Linked DNA regions of Homo sapiens: region 2 is linked to region 1. Evidence: promoter capture Hi-C in 16 types of primary human blood cells and fetal thymus (Javierre and others, 2016). All regions are on one chromosome and are shown on one strand. The core of a region is centred on a gene start or on the middle of the fragment in contact, and the rest is flanking DNA. Distances in the headings are between cores, read along the strand shown.

Region 1 (6,401 bases), core at 1-2,500:
GATCGGCGGGGCCTACGGGCTCTTCCTGCCTGGCACCCCACCCAGCTCCTCCTCCTTGCCTGCAATCTCTACCCCTACCCAGCTGGTGCTCCAGTGCGGCCACCTGATTATCTGCATTTTCCTTTCAAAATAATTCCATTTGGGGCCCCAAAGCAATCTATGTTCACTGTAGCAAATCCTGAAAACAGAGAAAAGCACAAAGAAGAAAACAGAGAAAAGCACAAAGGGGAAAACAGACGTTTTCCGTTTTTCCCCCAATGATTTGCAGCAATCTGCGGCAGTTTTCAGCCTCTGCAGGTTCCCAAACGTGACTTGGCTCCTGCTCTTTTCCCTTTGGTGTTAGCATCTGTTCCGGCACGGTTGAGGGATTCTTCAGACTCCGCCAGCTTTGCCTCTTTTGTAGCCAAACATTTATTGAGCACTTACTGCATACTGGGTACTACATGAGGCCACAGGGACCCAAAGGTCTCAGCAAAAGCTCGTGGAGCCTTCAGGCCAGTCCAGGAGGAGGAGGCCTGACACCCTTCAGCGGGTCATTTTAAAGGCTCTTGTGCATGGACCCTGTATGACATTTTTCTTTTTCTTTTTTCCTGGAGATTCATGTGTTGGTCTTTGTTATGGCTGAGGTTTAGTTTCAGACAATTTTTCTAGGCTTTCCTGGCATTTAAGGGAGGCTGTGACTGTGTCCTCTGCCACTTTTCCACACTTCGTCCCCCAAAATATCTCAAGAAAAGTCAAGTCACCCTTTCTCCTTTAACCCTTTAGTAGATTTGGACGTGCTGCCTCCACCCAGCATGGTGACGTCATAACCTGGGGCTCCCATCTGCCCCTTTCTACACTTGGCATGAGGTCGCCTGACTCTCACCCCTCATGGGCAGAGGCAGGGCAGCTGCAGGGTGGGAGGGACAGTTCTGGCCCTGAAAGGGGCCTTCAATGGAAAGTTGTCTTCCCTGCTCAGCCCCATTCCTGCTGCTCTCTTCAGAGCTGTAAGAACTGGGCCAAATGGTGCCCACACCTTCCAAGCCAACCTCAGATGAACTCAGGGTCAACAGGGAAGCTACTTCCCATGCTAAGCTGAGGGTTCTGTCTCTGGCAACCTGAATCATCCACTCACACAGAGGCTGAGTTAAATTAACCCCGCATTCAATGAGGGCCGGCCACCTGCACAGTCTTGTGGGGGCTGCAAAAATGCATGAGACTTGGCCTCCACCCTCACTCATGGCCCAGACTAGGGAGCAGCAGACACATGCTCAGTGTGGTCAGAGTTTACAGGGGCTTTAAGAAGAGAGAGGGGAATCCAGGAAGACTTCCTGGAGGAGATGGCAACTGAACTTGGATTTAAGGGAAGGGAAGAGATAAGGAGAGAAGGACATTCCCCACCATGGGACACAGGGCAGGGTATGGCAGAACCCAGGGGCCCCCAGAGGTGCATGGGCGGGGAACCCCAGACGGGGAGCAGCAGATTCAGGCTAGGGGGAAGGGAGCACCTTGTGGGTGCTGCTTGTTATGTGACTTGAGGAGATCCTGGATGGCAGTCTGGGTGCTGGAGCAGGATGGGGGTGCATGGGTGGGCAATGGGAGAAAAGGCAGGAAAGGCCAGTGAGGGCCCCTCTGGGGTCTTGGGCAGCACCAAGGCCAGGCACCCTGGAGAATGAAAGTCACGGTGGTCCCAAGATGGGGCTTCTGGAGGCGACTTTCGAGAACCGAATGAGGACTGGAAAGTCTGGAGACGAGGGAGCGCATTGTCCCCAGTGGAAGCGCAGGACAGTTTCCCTCAGCTGCGGTACAGGACAGAGGCCCTGGGTCACCTGTGAGTTATTTCCCCAAGGTCTCTAACCAGGCCACTGTGGTGGATGAGGGTCCAGAGAGCCTCTTCCACTACAAGCTCCACATGCCTGAGCAGGAAAAGGCCGGACCTTAATTTAACCCGGATCGTTTGCCATCAGGAGGGAGATTCTGAGATGTTCTCTTCCTTCCCTCCCTCCTGTGTTCCAGGGAGCTCTGCCCTTGTCCCCACAGCCACAGGGGAGCCACTGTCTGTCCTTTCCTCGATGAGAGGAGGTGCTCTGGGGCACAGCCGAGTCTTCTCCACCTCTGTGCACCGCCTGGCACGCAGGGACTCTCAAAAGAGGCCTGATGCACAGAGGCAGGGTCTACACATGCGTCCCTTTTAACCCGACCGTCCATTTCCATCCCGATGGGATGTGACACTGCACTCACAAGCTTGTTCGGGGGCAGGGGGGATCCTGGGTGGGGGGAGGTGGCAGGGTTTGAGGCAAGGTGCCCATGTGCACTGGTGGCCACCCTCCGTCCAAATGCCCCAGGCTCAGACCCAAGTGATAAGAACTTCAATGGTGTGGAGAGCGCCTGCGTGGGGGAGGCAAGCTGACACGCAGGCCCAGGGTTCCAGAAAGCCCCCTAGCTCCCCGAGGCCCAGTGCCCAGAAGGCCCAGCACATCTGCAGCCTCAGAGTGAGCTGTGGTCCTTCTCACCCCCAGCCTCCTCTTCACCCTTCCCCAGCTCCCCAGTGCTGGGTGGCGGGAGCGGGGTCCTGGGCTGAATTGTGGTCCCCGCAAATTCACATGTTGAAGCCCTAACCCCCCTCCCCAACACCCCCGTACCTTAGAATGTGACTCTATTTGGAGACAGGGCCTTTAGAGAGGTGACTAAGTGAAAAATGAGGTCATCAGGCTGGGCCCTAAGCCATGGTGGGTTTTTTTGGTTTGTTTTATTTTGTTTTGAGACAGAGTCTCGCTCTGTTGCTCAAACTGGAGTGCAGTGGCACTATCTCGGCTCACTGCAACCTCTGCCTCCTGGGTTCAAGCGATTCTCCTGCCTCAGCCTCCTGAGTAGCTGGGATTATAGGCGCGCACCACCACCACGCCCAGGTATTTTTGTATTTTTAGTAGAGACGAGGTTTCACCCTGTTGGTCAGGTTGGTCTCGAACTCCTGACCTCGTGATCTGCCTGCCTCAGCCTCCCAAAGTGCTGGGATTATAGGCGTGAGCCACTACGCCCAGCTGCCATGGTGTTCTTATAAGAAGATGAGCATGCGCAGAGCTACCAGGAGCACACACAGAGGGAAGACTGCAGCGGTGCAGGACAGAGGTGGCTACCCACGGCCACAGAGAGGCCTTGGAAGAAACCCACCCGCCCACACCTGGCTAGTGAGGAGGCATACTGCTGTTCTTTCACTGTGGTGCTTTGTATGTCAGCCCTAACGCACCCAGACGAGGGGCACAGGGACAGGAATGGGGAAAGGGATCCAGGCCAGGCCCCCGAAGTCTGTGCTTCTCCACCTTTAGGAAGCTGGAGAGCTCGCGAGCACCCACTTGCTCCCAGAAGAATCAGCTGATCAAAACAGAACCCCCAATCTCCCCAGAATCCAGAGGAACCCAACCTAAGCAGATGGCCCACGAGTGGAGATGCTGACCTATGGGTGGCAGTGTATTCTGCCCAGAAGGCAGGTGGGGAACCGCTGTGGGTGCCCTGACTATGAGAGCCTCCGGCCGTGGAGACACAGCCCTGCCATCTCTGTCCGATTAACAGGGGCTGAAGGGGCAAGAGAAGAGCCAGAACGTTCTCTCGCCTGAGGAGGGCACTCACAGTGTAGTGGAGAGCCCAATAAAGAACTGAACTTCCTTGAAGAGGGTCCAGAGGGGACTGGGGTGTTATGCGGGGGTGCTCAGGTGCGGGGAGCCCCACACCTCCATGCACAGTCCCACGACTCCACGCTCAACCGCGCACCTCCAGGCGCAGCCCTACCCTTCCAGGCACAGCCCTACCCCTCCAGGCGCAGCCCCCCACACCTCCACGCGCAGCCAGCCACTCTCACCTTCCCGCCTCCCGGCTGGTGCTTCAGGTTCTCAGTGGAGCCGATCTTGGACTTGACATTCTTCAGGTCTGGCATGGGCACGGGGGCTGTCTGCAGGCGGCTCTTGGCGGAAGACGGCGACTTGGGTGGAGTACGGACCACTGCCACCTTCTTGGGCTCCCGGGTGGGTGGGGTTGGAAGGGACGGGGTGCGGGAGCGGCTGCCGGGAGTGCCTGGGGAGCCGGGGCTGCTGTAGCCGCTGCGATCCCCTGATTTTGGAGGTTCACCTGGGAAGGAAGGAAGGGAGTGAAGCCAGGACTCGAGTGGGTGGGGTCAGAAAAGGCCCTGGGGGCTGCCTGTCCCGTGGGTCCATTCCCAGGCTCACCACTGGGTTAGGCAGGTGGAAGCCAGGTTGGAAGCGCAGCTACAGCAGACGGCTGCCCTGGGGAAGCATCTCTTCCTCCCTGCCTTTTTGCTTAGGGACAGAGACACCCCTTTCCCAGGAAAGCAATGGAAAACCATCAACCACCATCCAATACCCGCTCCCAGAGAGGTGGCCAACTCGGCTCCACAGTCTTTGGGTCAAGAGATGGGCTCCAACAAGCTGTGTGGCCTCAGACAAGTAACTTCCCCTCTCTGAGCTCAGAGGCCTTAATTTGAAAATGGAAATAATTATAATCCCTGCGGCCAGCGTGGCTCCAGGAGGTGGTAGATATGCTTTGCCAACCTCTAATACAATTCTTCAGGGCCTTTATCCTAAATAAGGGTGATGCAGTGACGAGACCCAGCTGTGCCCTCAAGCCTGGACGCTTCTGACCCTTTCCCCACAGGGTGAATGTTCAGCTGTTCAGCTGTTCGGCTAGTTCAGGGCTCCTGCCAGCACCCTGGCTCCTCTGTGGGATTTGGCCTTCAGAACAGGATGCCTGCTCCACGCCTGCCTGTCCCTAGCTGTCCACACGAGCCATACCGCTTCATGCTGCTGTGCCCTGACGTACAGTTCCCCACCTGCCATGCATAGCAGTTACTAGCGCACCCTTCCAACACCCTGGAAGCTGCTGGGGGGTCTCTTCTCCTCTCCATGCAGATGCTGTCCCTCCCTCCTCTGGGTGTCCTTTACCCTCAAACTTGCTTCTGTTACTGCACTTCCCAGGCCCCCGTTACACTTCAACAGTCTGGTATTCTATCTCATGGGTCTGTATTTTCCAAAGTGTGGCCCACGGAACCCTGCGTCAGAATCTCCGGAGCTTTCAAGGAGGAAAGTGGGAGTTGCAAAATGCAAATTTCTCGATCCCCTTCAAGAGTGGATAGAGCAGAATCTCTAGGGGTGGGACCTGCAAAGCCTCATTTTTCTCAAGCTCCACAAAGACTGAAGTCTGAGAACCGCAGGCCTCACCCTGTGCCGAGGTGTGCTTAGCTCCCCTGCAGTCTGAGAACTTAGCTTTCCTGCAAGTCCAGAAGCTTCCCGCAGCAATGCCCCTGCCGCTGCCCCAGGCATTTGCTGTAACACATACCTGCTGGCCAGACCTGGAGAAGGGCAGCTCTTTGAAGCACCCATGTAGCCAATGGGCAGCTTGGCCAGTGACGAATAAGCACTAGTTTTCTTTTGTTGTTGTTTTGTTTTTTTGTGGTTTTTTTTTTGAGACGGAGTCTTATTCTGATGCCCAGGCTGGAGTGCAATGGCGTGATCTCGGCTCACTGCAACCTCCGCTGCATGGGATCAAGCGAGTCTCCTGCCTCAGCCTCCCGAGTAGCTGATATTACAGGTGTGCAGCACCACGCCTGGCTAATTTTTGTATTTTTAGTAGAGACTTATTTTAGTAGAGACTGGATTTTTGTATTTTCAGTAAAGATTTCTTTAGTAGAGGTTTTACCATGTTGGCCAGGCTGGTCTTGAACTCCTGACCTCAGGTGATCCACCCGCCTCGGCCTCCCAAAGTGCTGGGATTATAGGCATGAGCCACCGCACCCAGCCAGCACCAGTTTTTAGAATTTGACTTCCATGTCTTTTTTAAAAATAATGTTTTTTATAGAGACGGGGTCTGACTATGTTGCTCAGGCTGGTCTTGAACTTCTGGCCTCAAGCGATTCTCCCACCTCAACCTCCCAAAGTGCCGGGATTATAGACGTGAGCCACCGTGCCCTGCGGATTTCCATGTCTTGGATGTTCCTGAAGTAGTACGCTCTGTGGCAATAGGACAAACGAAGCCTCTTATTTTCCACATAAGGAAACAACAGATGGGGCCTCGGCCTCCAGGGCCTCCAGGCTCAGCCTCTCTGCCTCCTCAGACCTCCCATCCTCCTGCCTCCCTGACTTCAGAGACCCAGGGTGACCAGTGGGCTTGGTGGTGGTGGCTCCAAATACTTTTCATGCCTCTTATTTACAGAGTGGTCGTGGGCAAGTCACCTGACCTCCTTAAGCCTATGTCTTCATCTGAAACATAGGGAGACAGCCAGGCATGGTGGCTCATGCCTGTAATGCCATTGTCCCTGAAGTCAAGGAGAGCACACAGGATTAGAAAGCCCATCAGACAAACACAGCTGCGCAAACTGCACAGGGAAGAGAATTCGGACTGCTCCATCTTCAGGC
Region 2 (6,401 bases), core at 2,067-4,566, about 19 Mb before region 1:
CTTACCTCCTGAGCTCAAGTGATCCGCCTGCCTTTGCCTCCCAAAGTGCTGGGATGACAGTTATGAGCCACCTGTACCCAGCCATAAGAATATTTCTTAAAATCTGACTTAAAATTTTTTTAAAAATTCTTTTAGAGATAGGGTTTCACCATGTTGGCTAGGCTGGTCTCGAACTCCCGACCTCAGGTGGTCTGCCCACCTTGGCCTCCCAAAGTGCTTGGATTACAAGTGTGAGCCACTGTGCCCAGCCAAAATCTGACACATTTATAAATTTCTACAATAATTTTAAATACCAAAAATATTCCCAAAACGTTTCATCATGATTATTTTTCTTCCCAAATCTTATAGTCTCTCAGAAAAATAACTTAGCCCACGTTTCCTTTAAAGAGTTTTTAATTTTTTTAATGAAGGGCCGAATTAATTTTATTTTTCCTTCTTTAAAAAAATTCGTCCAGCACAGTGGCTCACACCTGTAATCCCAGCAGTTTGGGAGGCCGAGGGCGGAAGATCACTTGCGTCCAGGAGCTCAAGACCAGCCTGGACACATGGTGAAACCCCATCTCTACTAAAAAATACAAAAATGAGCCAGGTGTGGTGACGCATGCCTGTAGTGCCAACTACTTGGAAGGCTGAGGTTGGAGGCTCCCTTAAGCCTGAGAGGTGAAGACTTCAGTGAGCTGTGATGGCACCACTGTGCTCCAATGTAGATGACAAAGTGAGACCCTGTTAAAACAAAACAAAACAAAACTTTTTTTTGGAGATAGGGCCTCACTTGATCGCCCCGGCTAGAGTACAGTGGTGCTATCATGGCTCACTGCAGGGTCGACCTCCTGGGGTCAAGCAGTCCCCTGGCCTCAGCCTCGCCAAGTAGCTGAGACTACAGGTGTGCATCACAACACCCAGCAAATTCCTTTTTGTAGAAACAGGGTTTTGCCATGTTGCCCAGGCTGGTCTCAAAATCCTGGCCTCAAGTGATCCACCCACCTCAGCCTTTTAGAATGCTGGGATTACAGGCTGTGAGCCACAACTCTCTTGGCCTATAAATGATAATTTAAGTGAATCTCTGAAGCTACAGTTTTTTGTTTCGACATGGAGTCTCGCTCTGTCGTGCAGTGGCATGATCTCGGCTCACTGCAACCTCCGCCTTCTGGGTTCAAGTGATTCTCCTCCCTCAGCCTCCCAAGCAGCTGGGATTACAGGTGCCTGCCACCATGCCTGGCTAATTTTTGCATTTTTAGTACAGACGGGGTTTCGCCCTGTTAGCCAGGCTGGTCTCGATCTCCTGACCTCAAGTGATCCTTTCACCTCAGCCTCCCAAAGTGCTGGGATTATAGGCATGAGCCATTTCGCCCAGCCTCTGAAGCTATAGTTTTATAGATTCTAAAGCAGAGACTTCATATAGCTGTCTATGAAAAGCCAAAAACAAACAAAAAACCCACAGAAAAACCTGATTCCCCACGCCAAAATTTCAAGGATTTGCCTAAAGGTAAGGTCCATCTGTACCTGAAATAAAGTTTGCTGTGCCTCTTTTTTTGCAGGGTCACCCAGCCCTATGCACCAATTATACTAGTAACAATCATTACATGAGTACCTCAGGAAGCTTTTAAATATATCACAAATATTTTACCAAATAAACCTGAATGGCCCTGGTTTAATGAAACTGTTTCTCTGTCTATAGACTATCTAGTCTTATAAAGTCAAAAGAGAAGCAATGTGACAAATTATTCAACAGCCCTTCTCTATTTATAGAGAGAGACTGAACTTCTTCCTTGGTTAGAAAGAAAACCTTGAGTTTCATTTCCTAGTTCATATATTTTTATAACATCGTGGGACAGATTTTGGGAAAACCAAGATGGTATAGCGGGCGCACACTTTGATCCTCCCTCTCCCTTCAAGAACATACAAGTGAGAGTAAAATATAAAAAAGAGAAATTGAAAAGACATAGTCATGCTTAAATAAGTTACAACAATCTCAACGGAACAGACACAAAACTGTGAGCAGGACTAAAACTGCAGGCCTTCTAGACTCCAGATGCAGAAGGAGGAAGTGGTGGCTGAACACTAACAGTATGAGTTTCTCGGGGATAAGGGAGGCTAACATGCTGTGTGTGAGGCAGTGATAAGCGCTGGCTCCCTGCTGGAAGTTAAGGGTTGACTGGGCTACACTGGGCTTCAGGAGAGAAGAAAACAACACTCCTCTCACTCAAAATAAGCTTGCAAAATTCAAATGTTTGAAAATGAAAATGTGTAATATGAAAAAAAGATAACCAGGGCCCATACGGTGGCTCATGCCTATAATCCCAGCACTTTGGGAAGTCAAGGAAGGAAGATCACTTGCTTGAGCCCAGGAGTTTGAGACCAGCCTGGGCAACATGGCAAAACCTTGTCTCTACAAAAAAACAATGACAACAACAATAACAACAAAAAACACCCCAAAATTAGCCAGAGATGGTGGCAGGGCACGCGCCTGTAGTCCCAGCTACTTGGGAGCCTGAGGCGGAAGGACTTACTGATCTGGGTAGGGGGAGGCTGCGATGGGGTGTGATTGCACCACTGCACTGCAGCCTAGGAAAAAGAATAAGGCCCTGCTTCTCAAAAAGCAAAAAAAAAAAAAAGCCAATAAAATCAATGGTCTAATCTGAATTCACTCCAAATGAAATTATAGAGCAATTTGACAGGCCGGGCATGGTGGCTCACACCTGTAATCCCAGCACTTTGAGCGGCTGAGGAGGGAGGATCACTTGAGGTCAGGAGTTCAAGACCAGCTTGGCTAACATGGTGAAACCCCGTCTCTACTAAAAATACAAAAAAAGCTGGGCATGGTGGCAGGTGCCTGTAATGCCAGATACTCAGGAGGCTGAGGCAGGAGAATTGCTCCAACCCGGGAAGCGGAGATTGCAGTGAGCAGAGGCAGCCCTACGCCCTCCAGCCTGGGCAACAGAGCAAGACTCCATTTAAAAAAAAAAAATTAACCCTATTTAAAAAAAGAGGCAGAAATAAAAATAGGTAGATGTAAAGAAGGAATCACATATCTTATAAACTAAAAAGAAAATAAAATGTATTTTTAAAATATGCCAGTACTTATACATATTTGAAACTTTAGCAGAGACGGAGTTTCCTCATGTTGGTCAGGCTGGTCTTGAACTCAAAAGCAAATTACCTTAGCAATAATGTGTTTTTGTTTTTGAGACAGAGTCTCACTCTGTCGCCCAGGCTGGAATGTGGTGGCGCGATCTCGCCTCACTGCAACCTCTGCCTTTTAGGTTCAAGCGATTCTCTTGCCTGAGTCTCCGGAGTAGCCAGGACTACAGGTGTGCGCCACCACGCCCAGCTAATGTTTGTATTTTTGTAGAGATGGGGTTTCACTATGTCAGCCAGGCTGGTCTTGAACTCCTGGCGCCATGTGATTCACCTCCCTTGGCCTCCCAAAGTGCTGGGATTACAGACGTGAACCATTGCACCCGGCTCCTTCTTTCCCAAAGTATAATTTTTCTTCCTCATTAGATTGTTTTTGTATAAAATGTGTTTATATATGAACACATGCATTAAAACAATATATACAAGATATATTCTAAAGTTGTTTAAAAATGATTGTCTTTGGGGTTTAGATTTAGAGATCACTTTTATTTGTTGGCTTTGAAGTGCAACTGACCTATTTATTTACATATAAAGGATATAAACTACAAATATTTTCCCACTCTGTACAGAATGTGGAATGGAAACAGTGCATGGCACACCTTAAGTGTTAAATAAACATTTCCTGAGTGAATTGAATGGATACATCACACTATATATACACTAGTCTGTAATTTGGATTTTTTGTTCAAGCACTTGTCATTGGCAATTTCCTCCAAATAATTAAAAAATGAAAAACACCAATCCCACATTATTTTCTTAAAATGGAAGTACATTTTTTGGATATTCCAAAATGTATTCCAGTGGTTCTCAGCCGGAAGTGGTTCTGACACCTCCTAGTGGGAATGTATGGGGAGCGGGCAAGGTTACCTTTTTGGTTGTAAAAATGATGAGGCTGGTACTAGCCTTTGGTATCCGGGCCCAGAGATGCTAAACTTCTTCCTACAGTGTGTAAACTGGCTTGTCCAAAAGGCCAAAGCGCTTCTGTTGAGAAACACTGATGACCAATCTCCTCTATGTGGTCCTGTGAGACTGTGAAACACGTATTTGATCTTCCTGGTTCCTGGCATACAATTCCTAAAACCCTCAGAATCTGCAAAATAAGTCTTTTTTTTATGCTAATGATTGACTGATTAGGCTTTCCTAGACAGCCTCAGGATTGGGGCTGGTGGTCAGGGCTTTCAGTGCCACTCTCAACCTCTGAGAAAGAGAGAGAGGCTGAAGGTTAAGCTGACCACCAACGGCCAACGGTGTAATCATTAATGACTCTGTAATGAAGCTTCCATAAAAACCCAAATTGAGGCCGGGCACAGTGGCTCACGCTTGTAATCCCAGCACTTTGGAAGACTGAGGTGGGTGGATTACTTGAGGTCAGGAGTTGGAGGCCAGCCTGACCAACATGGTGAAACACCGTCTGCACTAAAAGTACAAAAAATTATCCAGGCATGGTGGCACACGCCTGTAATCTCAGCAACTCGGGAGGCTGAGTCATGAGAATCGCTTGAACCTAGGAGGCAGGCTCAATGTTTATCTTGTAACTGACTATGTTACTGAATTATAATTTTTTTTTTGAGACCTAGTCTCATTCTGTCACCCAGGCTGGAGTGCAGTGGCGTTATCTTAGTTCATTGCAACCTCTGCCTCCCAGGTTCAAGCGATTCTCGGGCCTCAGCATCCCGAGTAGCTGGGATTACAGGCATGCACCACCACGTCCGGCTAATTTGTTTGCAATTGTAGAAAAGACAGGGTTTCACCATGTTGCCCAGACTGGTTTGAACTCCTGGCCTCAAGTGATCTGCCCGCCTCGGCCTCCAAAGTACTGGGATTAGAGGTGTGAGCCACTCAGTCCAGACAACATTTATTTCTTTATTCATTTCACCAGTTGGCATGGTTTCCAGACTTTTCTTGATTTATTTTATTTTATTTTTTGAGAAGGAGTCTCACTCTTGCAGCCCAGGCTGGAGTACAATGGCGCAATCTTGGCTCACTGCAACCTCCACCTCAGGGGTTCAAGCGATTCTTCTGCCTCAGCCTCCTCAGTAGCTAGGATTACAGGCACCCGCCACCATGCCCAGGTAATTTTTGTATTTTTAGTAGAATTTAGGAGTTTCCTAAATTCTGGGGGCTTGTCTCCCTGTTCCCCCACCCCGACTAATTTCCCTCGGTCGCTGGCGCTGCCCCGTCCCTTAGGTCGCTCGGGCCGCCCCACTCCGAGACTTTTTTTTTCTTTCGCTGGCTCTTTCAGCTTCAGTTTCCCTAGGGGGCGGGAGGGGAATATTTGGGGGCTCTCCTGCCTTCCTCTCCGAGCCGCGGAAGGGGAGACGCAGGGAGGAGGTCCGGCCGGCTTTGGGCTCCAGCCAGGGGTCCGCGGAGACTATGGTCTCCGAAGGCCTTAGCCGCGGGGCATTTCGCGAGCTGCGCGTCTCTCTCAACGGCGCCACCGCGCCCGGAGTCCAGCCGCGCCGCGCTGCGCCCAGCCCCGGCGCCCCAGGCTCTCCGCCCCCGACTCAATGCTCCCGCGCTCCCCCTAGCGGCCGCCGCGCCACCTCGCCCCGTCCCAGGCTCGTAGGCTGCTCAGCTCACGTGACCGCGCTCCGGTAACGGAAGAAACAAGATGGCGGCTGAAGGCGATCCGCAGTGAGGCCCCAGCCATTCGGATTGAGCCTTCTCCCTCCAACCGCTTCCGCAGGCCGGGCCCCTCCTGCCCTGCCCCTCTGGCCTCCCCACCCGGCCCCGGCCGCCCCCACTGCGCCCATTGCGCCCGCCCCTTCCCGGCCGCTTTCCCTTCTCCCTCCGCCTCGGTTCCAACATGAGGGGCCGGCGGGGCAGGCCGACCAAGCAGCCCGCGGCTCCCTCTGCGGAGCGCTGCGCCCCGGCCCCGCCGCCGCCGCCGCCGCCCACGTCCGGACCCATCCGGGGTTCCGCTCGCGGCACCGCGGCAGCAGCCGGGGCAGGTGGGCCGCCGCCCAGGCTGAGGTGGCGCCCAAGACGCGGCTGAGCTCGCCCAGGGGGGGCAGCAGTAGCCGGAGAAAGCCGCCGCCGCCGCCAGCCCCACCCCAGCACCAGCGCCCCGGCCGGGGGGAGGCGGGGGCAGCCACCTGGCCCGGACAGCTGCAGGTCCGGACGGCCGTCAACAAAGTGGTGTAGTCACTACAGGTGCTCGCTGCCACACCCAGCTAATTTTTTGTATTTTTTAGTAGAGATGGAGTTTCACCGTGTTGCCCAGGCTGGTGTCGAACTCCTGAGCTCAGGCGATCCGCCCGCCT

What was found. Contacts are between HindIII fragments. The CHiCAGO score rates a contact against its expected background, and 5 or more counts as called.
Region 2: a contact is called between a fragment that was not itself captured here and the fragment with the promoter of STH in region 1, in 17 of 17 cell types (total CD4 T cells, endothelial precursors, M2 macrophages and 14 more). The highest score is 121.2, in total CD4 T cells.

Annotation. Positions count from the first base shown.
Region 1 is chr17:45,994,099-46,000,499 of GRCh38, reverse strand. It overlaps STH (saitohin), which reads right to left and starts at 1,250. Exons shown (of 1, transcript NM_001007532.3): 1 at 806-1,250. The coding sequence starts at 1,220. The coding sequence ends at 834. MAPT (microtubule associated protein tau) reads right to left here. Exons shown (of 13, transcript NM_001377265.1): 9 at 3,836-4,101. The HindIII fragment of the contact is 3,833 bases long and covers 1-2,225 here.
Region 2 is chr17:64,918,802-64,925,202 of GRCh38, reverse strand. It overlaps LRRC37A3 (leucine rich repeat containing 37 member A3), which reads left to right and starts at 5,725. Exons shown (of 15, transcript NM_199340.5): 1 at 5,725-5,772; 2 at 6,333-6,401. RefSeq lists enhancers at 4,323-4,822, 4,823-5,324, 5,400-5,900 and silencers at 5,516-5,735, 5,836-5,925, 5,996-6,375. The HindIII fragment of the contact is 2,201 bases long and covers 2,216-4,416 here.